Regions from separate parts of the Homo sapiens genome. Here region 2 is linked to region 1. Evidence: promoter capture Hi-C in human tissues and cell types (Jung and others, 2019). All regions are on one chromosome and are shown on one strand. The core of a region is centred on a gene start or on the middle of the fragment in contact, and the rest is flanking DNA. Distances in the headings are between cores, read along the strand shown.

What was found. Contacts are between HindIII fragments. The study calls those that stand out against the background at their distance.
Region 2: a fragment that was not itself captured here is called in contact with the fragment with the promoter of SCUBE1 in region 1 in 1 of the 25 tissues and cell types used here (IMR-90 fibroblasts).

What each region holds. Positions count from the first base shown.
Region 1 is chr22:43,340,042-43,345,333 of GRCh38, reverse strand. It overlaps SCUBE1 (signal peptide, CUB domain and EGF like domain containing 1), which reads left to right and starts at 1,962. Exons shown (of 22, transcript NM_173050.5): 1 at 1,962-2,160. The coding sequence starts at 2,073. The HindIII fragment of the contact is 4,801 bases long and covers 1-3,936 here.
Region 2 is chr22:43,382,498-43,387,789 of GRCh38, reverse strand. The region is part of intron 3 of LOC105373053 (a long non-coding RNA gene); the gene reads left to right. Among named protein-coding and RNA genes, the nearest start is that of LINC01639, 15 kb to the left of the region's middle. The HindIII fragment of the contact is 8,457 bases long and covers 1-5,292 here.

The DNA of each region.
Region 1 (5,292 bases), core at 713-3,212:
GATAATTCACCAGCAAACTTGACCTGAGCAATCGCTTGGGGGCAGGCTGGGGACTACAACTTGGTACAAGGGACAGCTACCTCTGGGCTGAGGGGTCACAGAGTAACCTGCCTCCATTCCTGCCTTGATTTGTGGGGATGGAGCCTGGAAGAAGCTTCTCTTGCTGCCATCAAGCTTGAGGGGCACCTGGCTAGGGCTGGGCGGGGGGGTGCCTAATGACCAGGCACATTAGAGGGCATTGTTTCAAGTAGGTCAGAGCCCCCTGGAAGAACCTCCCCCACCACCTCACACTGCTTGCCCTGTTGCCCAATGCACAAGATAATATGTGGTTCTGAGGGAACTCCCCACCCCCTGCAGAAACTCAAAGCTACACAATTGACGGGGACAAAATAAAGCCTGTCAACAGCATCTCCCAAATTAAACCAGCAGCCAGGAGCAGCCGTGCAGACCGAAATGTCTGGAGCAATGGGGTGGGGGCTCAGTGGAGACAACAGGCAGCGCTTCCTTCTTCTTTGGGCATCTCTGGACCCCCCACACCCCCGATCCCCATGTAGGGGACCCCTTGCCTCAGCCACCAGGCCCGTGCCACAAGCTGATGTGAAGTCAGATGGGGTGTGAGAGCTGGCTGGACACAGATTTAACCTTCCAGGGCTGAGGAGCTCGTCTACGGTAGGTTGGATGAGGGCGTGAAGAAGCATGTGTGAGCGTGTGTGTGCTGGAGGGTGTGAGGGTGTGAGGCTGTGTCTGAGTGATTGCACGTGAGAGCATGTGTCTGCATGTGTGACTGTGTGTGTGTGTGTGTGTGTGTGTGTGTGTGTGTGTGTGCGTGTGTGTGTTGGGGGCAGGAAAGGGAGCTGGTGTGGAGGGGCTCAAACTGGTGCAGGCAGAGTGGACAAAAAGAGAAAAGAGTTGTCTTTGAGTTGGGCCTGGAGAGCAGGAGAAGAAAAAAGGAGCTCTTATTGGTGGTTGTCAAGGAGATGGGCCTTGGGGTTTGCTGAACTTTCGTCCCTTAAAGCGTCCTGCCTGGAACTGAGAGGGGCCATTTATTTCCAGCCGCCCGTCCCTCCCAGGCCCGGTGGGACCAGACCCGAAGCCAACCCTCGCCAGGCGTCAGGTGTAGACCCCAGGCCAGGCCAGAGCAGTTCCTGGGTCTTCGGACCGGGATGCCCGCCCTGCCCCTCCTCCTGGCCCCGCCCGGTCTGTCACAGGGGGAGGCCTCGGCCTCGCATTCCGGGCAGCGAACTTCGCCGGCCGAGGTTAGCCCCGTGCGGGGGCCTCCCGCGGGACCGACCGCCAAGCGGCATTGTCCGTCCCGGGCGCCCGCCCGGTTCCAGACGCAGGTCCTGCGGCCGCCCCGTGACAAGCACACTGACGGGCCACTGTCCTTTGACGAGTGCTAAAAAGTTCGTTTGTTTTGAACGTCAATTTTCAAGTGATCTTCACGAGGTTTCCCCTCCCGGTTCCTTCGCTGCTGCCTCGCCCGCACTCGGTCCCCAGTAGGTGCTCAAGAAACGTCCAGCAAACGGCAGCGCAGGCGAGTCTGCTCTGCGCGCTGGCGCGTTTCACTGCCCACGGATGGCGGGCGACCTCACGGGATCCCCGGTTCGCAGGATCCCCGCCCCCGAGGCTGCCTCTGGGCCGGGAGGGGTTACCCCAGAGGGGCGTCCACTCTCGACGGCGGGGGCCGGGGCGCCGCGGGCAGGGGAGGGCGCAGCCTCCAAGCAGCCCCAGCCTGGCCTAGACCCCGCGCCTAGCGAGCCGGCCGGCCAGGCCCACACCCCCCACCTGCCGCCCGCCCCAGGGGAAGGGTCCCCCCGACGACGCCCGAGCCCCCCTCTTCCTCGGAGGGCCGGAGGCCGGCGCCCATTGGCCGGCCCTGGGCGACGCCCCGCCCCTCCGACGCCACGGGCCAATGAGCGCGCGCTGTCAGCTCATCAGCCGGGCTGGCTGGGCGGCTCGGGAGCCCGAGCGGTGGCGGAGCGGCGAGCAGCGAGCAGCGCCTGCGGGAGCGGCCGGTCGGTCGGGTCCCCGCGCCCCGCACGCCCGCACGCCCAGCGGGGCCCGCATTGAGCATGGGCGCGGCGGCCGTGCGCTGGCACTTGTGCGTGCTGCTGGCCCTGGGCACACGCGGGCGGCTGGCCGGGGGCAGCGGGCTCCCAGGTAAGCCCCCGACCGAGGTGGGGGGCGGCGGGCGCGGGGGGCTCGGGCGGCCGAGGCGCGGTCCCGGAGGGCTTCTTCCCCGCGGATCCCGAGCTCGCCCCGCGCGGCCCCGCGCCCCCTGCCTCTTTGCAAAGTAACTTCTAGGGCCGGCCCGGGGCGCCCCCTCCCCGCAGCCCGGGCGGCCGGGGCTCCTGAGTCCGGCGGGGCCGCACCAGGGGTGGGTGGGCCGGGGCCCCGGGAGGGGAAGCGCGAGCGCGGGAGCGAGGAAGAAAGGCGGCGGTTCCCGGGGACCCCGCGTGCGGACCTGGGCGGGGCGGGACCCCGAGCGCAGAGGGGCGCTCCTCCTGGGAGAGGGGGCGCGGGGCGGGGCGGGCGGAGGGGGACACGCCAGGAGGTGGACGGGGAAAGGGACGGACCGAGAGACCGGGACGGGGCGGGAGGTGCGGGACAGACGGACAGAAGAGCCGGCGCCGAGGGAGCAGACAAAAGGAAGCCCGGAGAAAAGACAGATGCGGAAGGGTAGAGAGGAGGCCCGCACCGCCCGGGGAAGGAGGAGGAGGCCGGTGGATCAGGGGGAATCAAGAGGGATGGTCCCACCGATGATAAGGGAGAGAGAGAGGAGGAGACGGGGGACAGATGGACGCCGCAGAAAAACGGGGTTGGGGGGGGCGGTGAGAGGGAGACCGGGAAAGAGAGAGGGACAGAGATACCTGGAAAGCCGCAGACGAGGGACCGGGACCGTCTGACAGGACGGGGAGGAAAGACAGAGGGAAGGAAGGCAGAGGATCCGGAGGACAGACACAGGGAGGAGAGTCCGGACGCGGGACGTCGGTGGAGCAGACCCAGGAAGGGGAGGGGGAGACCCGGAGGCCACAGGCCCAGGCCCGTGGGTTTCACGGGGACCCCCCCACCCTCCCACCCGGTCCCCTCCTGCTCTCTGTCTTCAGGGGCTTCCCGAAAAGCTGGAGTCACATTCTCCCCTCCTCGTCATCAGAGGCGCTTCCTCCGGTGCTCTGCTTGGAGGGGGAGGCAGGGGGAGGGTCCTGCACGTCCTTCCCGGCTTCCTGAGGTCTGGTATGGGTGGCGTAGGGTCTATTCCTGGTGGTCCCGCGTGCCCCGAGTGAGGATGCTGGGCCTGTGAGACTCTTCCACAGCAACACCCCTCCTGGAAGCCCAGCCCTGCTGCCCCATCATCCCCCTTGTGTCTGTGGGTGTCTCTCCCAAGCTTTGGGGTCCCTCACCTCTGAGTGACTGTTCCTGGGCGTGCCTATCCCCACCTGTGTCCCTCCTCGTGTCTCTCTGTATCTGACTCTGTCTCCTCCACGACCCTCTCCGTGGAAGCCCTGTGACTGTGAAACCCCAGCAGCATGTCCCCAGCATAAGCAAACCAGAGTCAAAGGGAGCAGCCTGTGCTAGGAGGGCTGGGTCGCCCTGCAGGGGAGTCTCCAGCCCAGACAGGAGCGGGAGCATGGCAGAGAACCGATGGGGACAAGTGGCTTCTCCCTCTCTCTCCTCAAACTCCCATGTCCTCTCCCCACACTCCACACCAAGGACACCCAAGTGTTTAAAGGTGTGTTGGGAGATAGCTCCACCCACCCCTCATCAACATCCATCCATTTCCATTCCAGTGAAGACACCTGCCTAGGTGGGAGATTAGGGGTGAGGGCACAAGGGGCTCCCACCCCTCATTCCTACATACTGGCCCCTGGGAAGTGGGAAGAGCCATATCTGTGGCCCACTGCCCCTGCTGGTCCTGTCTCATAAGTGACCCCAGTCCTCCCAAACAGAAGCCTGGAGATGGGCCCTCTCTGGCCTCTGGGTCCCTGCCTTAGAGGCAGTGCCAGTCCTGCACAGTGTCCCTCTGTTGCCACTTCCCCAGAAGGCCCTCATGGATGTTCCTGCTGGCCCAGCCATCCAGTTGCCGGCTGGGCCCCCTCCAGTTCCTGCCTCCTTGTCCCCTTTCCACTCTTCCCCTGGGCAGCTGTCTAGGACAGGCCGCCCACCTGAGCAGATGGGTAGCCCCCCCCGGAAAGCAATGCCACCTGCCGTGTGTGTGCGCACACGTGCATGCATGTGTGTGTGTGTGTGTGTGCAGGGGGGTCATGCTGTTGTGTTTCTTGTTGATGCCTCTCTTCCTTCAGGGGTGGGCAGGAGACTTAGGGGCTAGGGCAAAGAAGGAGAAGCCCTGGGGGGCATGGATCTCATAGGCCCCACTGGCAGATTTCGAACCCAGATATTATCCAGGGGAGAAATTTAGAGTGGACACTCTTGGGGACCCAGCAATCTAAGGTGAGACCAGAGGCATGAAGAGATGGGGACATTCCAAGCTTACCCCTGGGGCACTGCCCTCATGGCAGCTGCTGAGAGTTCCTTGCACTGCTGCACTCCTGGGTCCTTCTGTCTGTCTGTCATGTCTACATTTCATGCATTGCTAGCTAGAAGTCACATGGCACATAGGAAAGCTCATTCTGTGTCAGAGTCCAGTCTCAGCCCCAGTGAGCTACTGACCCATAACAGATTTCACCTCACTGGGCCTCATTTCCTCATCTATAACCTGAGGAATCAACCTGGATTATAGGTACAGCTCTGACTGTGCTGAACTGTGCCCGACAAGAGGCACGTCCCCTCCCTGCCTGAACTCTGTGTGTGTGTGTGTGTGTGTGTGTGTGTGTGTGTGTGTGTGTGTGTGTGTAAAAGAGACAAGGAGAGAGGCTTGGGGTGTATAGATGGAATGGATACACAGAATCTATTTTGCACAATTTGCCCCAACAGCTGTTCCAGACTGAAAGTGTATATGTGTTGGGGGCAGGAGGTAGAGAGTGTCGGGAGCCCTCAAAGCCTAGACTGAACTTGCATTTATAAGTTGGGACATGAAAACCAGGTTCACGTGTGGATTTCCGAGGAGGGAGGACCATGTGGGGAGTCAGAACCATGGATGGGCTCAGGTTAGCCCAGTTGAGGGTGTGGTTCTGCCACCAGACACTTTGGTGTGGGGGCGTGGAAGCCAGATGATGAATCCCGTGTTTCCACAGGCTAGGGGCAGGGTGGGATCCCACGTTCAGGTGACCTGCAGGAGCCTCCTGGCATGGCCTTGGTGTCCCCATCTGGAACCCAAAGGGACTAGATTTAAAC
Region 2 (5,292 bases), core at 1,517-4,016, 42 kb before region 1:
TCTTGTCTAAAACGACAAGCAGACAGAACGGAGTCCTCAGACACTGTCCCCGAGAGACCACCTTCCTCTGCCTCTGCTCACCTCCCTTTTCAGCAAACTAGCCCACCATCCTTCATAACAGAAGAGGGGCCTGCAGTAAAACATAGCATGCCTGGGCCCCCTACAAATTGCCATCTCCTCCCTGGCCTCAGTTTCCCTGCCTGTCTATATAATGAGAGGTCAGACCGGCTGGTCTAAAGGTCAAGGTTGATCGAAGCACTCTAACTCTCCCCACCCACCTCCCTTCATCAGCCAGTGCAGAGACACACACGCCCCTCCATGGTGCTGGATGTCCTCAGTTTTCCCAAAATGACCTGGCTTTGAAAGACCAAGGCCAAAATGGTTTGGCGGTGACTGTGGAGGCCAGCAGGACTCCCTGGCCACACGGTGACTCAAAGAGGCAGCCGGCAGGACAGCCCTGTCTCCCCTTGGGACAGTGATGCAATCCATGGGCAGCTGGGAGGGCTCCGCGGGCCAGACTGCTGGGCAGGCCCCCTCGCTTTCTGAGTTTCGGGCCCTCACTGTAACCTGCAGACCCTCCTTGAGCTGGAATCCAAAGCCCTCCTATGTGTGAGTCCTGCACTTCTCTAAAAGTGGTGGAAAAGACAGGCCAGGTTCGAGTCCAGCTCCCAACCCACCACTGCTGTTTTCAAAGCCTTGTGCCCTTGGGCAGGTCACCTCACTCACCCACTGCTGTCCTGTCTCATTCCCATGTGGATGTCGGTGACACCTGCCTCCCAGGTGGTGGCAGGTAAGACGAGATGATCCCGTCAGCAGAGGGCAGAGTGCCTCGGGGGAATTGGTGCTCACAGAGTTAGCCCTGATGGAGATGGCTGCCCAGGCTGGACCTTGTCAGCCTCCCCAGATGATGGATGAATAATGGATGGGCAGGCCGGGCGCAGTGGCTCACTCCTGTAATCCCAGCACTTTGGGAGGCTGAGGCGGGTGGATCACCTGAGGTCAGGAGTTCGAGACCAGCCTGACCAACATGCTGAAACCCTGTATCTACTAAATACAAAAAATTAGCTGGGTGTGGTGGTGTGTGACTGTAATCCCAGCTACTTGGGAGGCTGAGGCAGGAGAATCGCTTGAACCTGGGAGGCGGAGGTTACAGTGAGCTGAGATAGCACCATTGAACTCCAGCCTGGGCAACAAAAGCGAAACTCTGAAAAGAAAGAAAGAAGGAAAGAAAGAAAGAGAGAGAGAGGAAAGAAAGAAAGAGAGAGAGAGGAAAGAAAGAAAGAGAGAGAAAAGAAAGGAAGAAAGAAAGAAAGAAGAAAGAAAGAGGGAGGGAGGGAGGAAGGAAGGAAAAGGAAGAAAGAAGAAAGAAAGAAAACAAAGAAAGAAAGGAAAGAGAGAGAGAAAAGAAAGAGAAAGAAAGAAAGAAAGAAAAGAAGAAGAAAGAAAGAGGGAGGGAGGGAGGGAGGGAGGGAGGAAGGAAGGAAGGAAGGAAAAGAAAGAAGAAAGAAAAGGAAGGAAAAGAAAGAAAGAAGAAAGAAAGAAAAGAAAGAAAGAGAGAGAAAGAAAGAAAGAGTAAGAAAGAGAAAGAAAGACTGGATGGGCAAATTTGGACCGTGCACACACCAACCACCTTGCACAATGCTTGGTACTCTCACATCCGTGACTTCACTTAGCCCCCATAAAACCCCTGCTTCCATCATTTTCCAGCTGGGGAAACTGAGGCCCAGAAAAGAGACATTCCCAGTGTCACGCAGTGCTGGGTTCCAGCTGGGCAGTGCTGGAATCAAACCCCGGTCAACAGGGAGAGTCAGCTGCAGTTTGTCAGTGGAACAGCCTGAGCCGTGCGGCCGCGTTTCGCCAGAAAATCACTCCCTGCTCATCATAACCGGCACCTCTCCATGTCGGCCACACGAGGGCAGCAGCGCCCCGGCCATCGCCGGGCTTCGCACTGAGGCTTCTTCCATCCCTGCTGAGAACGACTGGGCGGTTGCAGCCAGCAAGGCTCAGAGGAGGAAGGGGCCACGTCGGGGACCTCTAGGGTCTGCGAGGGGCCCAGGCTGTGTCCTGCCCCCTCCGCTGCCTTGGTGCATGAAAGACTCCACTTCTTCTGTGAAATGGAGGCTTGTGTCCCCACCCAGGCAGCCCAGGCTCCGGATAACATCAAGTGCCTCTGCCAGGCTGGGGTGCGGCGAATAATCAAAAGAAGCACGGAACCACTGACCAGGTCCAAGTCTCCATTTCACAGAAGTGGAGGCTTCATGGTATCACTGCCTCCGTGCAGAAGAAAAGGAGACTCCAGAGGCTGACGCAATTTGCCTGAGGTAGACGCAGAGTCAGACTCAGAGGCCGTATTGGTTCGTCCCACCGTCTTCCAGAGAGAATGGGCTGCCTCCTGGAGCCCTGACCCACCCACGACAGCCCCCAGGATGTCCTACAGCCAGTTGCAAACTCAGTTTGTCCAAAGCCATTGCCCTTCCCTCTCTGTCTTCTGTCAGTGGGAGGCACCACTGCACAGAGACCCCCAGCCTGAAACCTGGCATCTCCCAAAACTTCTCTGAGCTCCTTAACCCCACATCTCCCATCCAACTCATCACCAAACTCTGTGGATTCTCCCCAGGCCCGTTTTTTAAGATGACAAAAATTGCCTTGAACTACATCTGGGCTGTGATTTCGGATTGGGACACACACTCTTCAGTTTGCTACAGGCTTCACCGCTCCCTGCTGCATCCCCAGCTCTGGGGGCCCAGGTCAGCTGCTGTCGAGCACTGGGCTTCACTGATGTGCTTTTTACAGCGAGGGAGTATTTCCTTGCCCCATCAAGTGTGCAGGAAAGAAAGCTGGGCAGAGAAGTCTGCCTATTTGAAGAAAAAAAATCAGAAACAATTTTCTTCAGGTGACAGAAGGCAATTTTTAAGAAGCATGCAACCAAAATGCATTATATGTAAACTGTGTAATATCTAATATTTTTTACGCTCAGCCCACGTTATACATTTTTGCCACCTGTCTGGCCACTGTAGGCTTTGGAGGTTGCAACCCCCAGGTGATAATAATCACAGAAGAGACTTACAGTGAGATAGCGAGATGGGGGTGGGTGTGGGCAGAGGGAGAGGAAGAGTCAAGCCATTTAGATAACTTGGGTTTCCTCTCCAGGCCCCAAAAAGCAGGAAGGGGGCGCGTAGAGTACTACCTCCTATCCTATTTTGTCCAAAGCCAGATTCATAATCATTGCCACTTCCATGCACACCCTTCTCAGTTTCCCACCCGATTCCCATAGACGGGGCCCCTCCACTATCTCCTGCCCACAGTATAAGTCGTAAAGTCTCCCAAACCTCAACCAGGTGAACAATAGTGCCTGATGTCACCCAGGTCCTATTGCAATGATTATGTGTTTTTTCTTTAAGCTGTTAATGGAATGAATTATATTAATTAATTTCCTAATAATAGGAATTGCATTCATAAGATAAACATAACTTCATCATAATATGCTGGGGTTTTTTGTTTTTGTTTTTTTTTTCTTTGAGATGGAGTCTCACTCTGTAGCCCAGGCTGGAGTGCAGTGGCACGATCTCGGCTCACTGCAACCTCTGCCTCCAGGGTCCAAGAGATTCTCCTGCCTCAGTCTCCCAAGTAGCTGGGACTACAGGCGCCTGCCACCACACCTGGCTAATTTTTTGTATTTTTAGTAGAGACGGGTTTTACCATGTTGCCCAGGTGGTCTCAATCTCCTGAGCTCGGGCAATTCACCTGCCTCGGCCTCCCAAAGTGCTGGGATTATAGGCGTGAGCCACTGCACCCGGCCTGTACTGTATTTTTTATTATTATTGCTGAATTCACTGTGCTAATAATTTTCAAGAATTCTTGGAATCTATGCTCATGGGTAAAATTGACTTGAAAGTTTTCTTTATTGTACTGTCATCATCTGATTAGCCAGCTTATGCTAACCGAATAAGGTAAACTGGTAAGTGTTGACTGTGTTTCTCCACTGTGGAGTAGAAATTTGGGTAAGCTTGAACTGATTTGTTCTTTGACTGTTTAGCCAAATTAGGATTTGGTTCATCCCACCATCTTCCAGAGAGAGCTGGGCTATTAATTTGGTGAATTCCAAATTCACATATCTGGAATTGTCATCTGGGACAGACGTTTTCTTTATAGGAAGATTTTAAACTACTAAATTAATGTATTAAGTGATTATAGGACCTTTCAGGTTTTCTGTTTTTTCTTGAGTCAACTTCAGTAAATTGTATTTTTCTAGGAATTTGGCAATTTTGTTTAAGACTTCTTATGTATTGGCATACAGTCACTTATAACAGTCTTGTGATATTTAATATTATTCATTTACTCTATGAAAAATCTAGAATTATGTCCCTTCTTTCATCCCTAGTATTGTTTATCTGTGCTCTCTCTTATGTCTTAAACTTGTAAGAGATTTTTATAATTTTTTAGTCCTTTCAAAAAATAATATTTTGTCTTTGATTCTCTTCCCTACTTAGGTTTGTTTTCCGGTTTTTTTGTTTGTTTGTTTGTTTTTTGTTTTTTTGTGTGATGGCATCTCACTCTGTTGCCCAAGCTGGAGTACAGTGGTGTGATCTCAGCTCACTGCAGCCTCCCAACTCCTGGGTTCAAGTGATTCTCCTGCCTCAGCCTCCCGAGTAGCTGGGACTACAGGTGCCCACCACCACGCCTGGCTTATTTTTGTATTTTTTAGCAGAGACAGGGTTTTGCCATGTTGGCCAAGCTGGTCTTGAACTCCTGGTCTCAAGTGATCCACCTGCCTCGGCCTCTCAAAGTGCGGGATTACAGGTGTAAGCCACCATTCCCAACCATTTAGGTTTGTTTTCTACGTCATTAATTTCTGTGCTTTTTTTTTAGATGGAGTCTCGCTCTGTCACCCAGGCTGGAGTGCAGTGGCATGATCTCGGCTCACTGCAAGCTCCACCTCCCAGGTTTATGCCATTCTCCCGCCTCAGCCTCCTGAGTAGCTGGGACTACAGGTGCACACCACCATGCCTGGCTAATTTTTTTGTATTTTTAGTAGAGACGGGGTTTCACCTGTGTTAACCAGGATGGTCTCAATCTCCTGACCTCATGATCTGCCCACCTTGGCCTCCCAAACTGCTGGGATTATAGACATGAGCCACCACGCCTGGCCCTAATTTCTGTTCTTAACATTTGATTCCTTTTAATATCTTGGGGTTTATTCTGCTGTTCTTATTTTAACTTTTAAGTCAGATGCTTAGTTCGTTCATTTGAAGCATTTCTTTTTTCTTCTTCTTTTGTTTTATTTTTGAGACA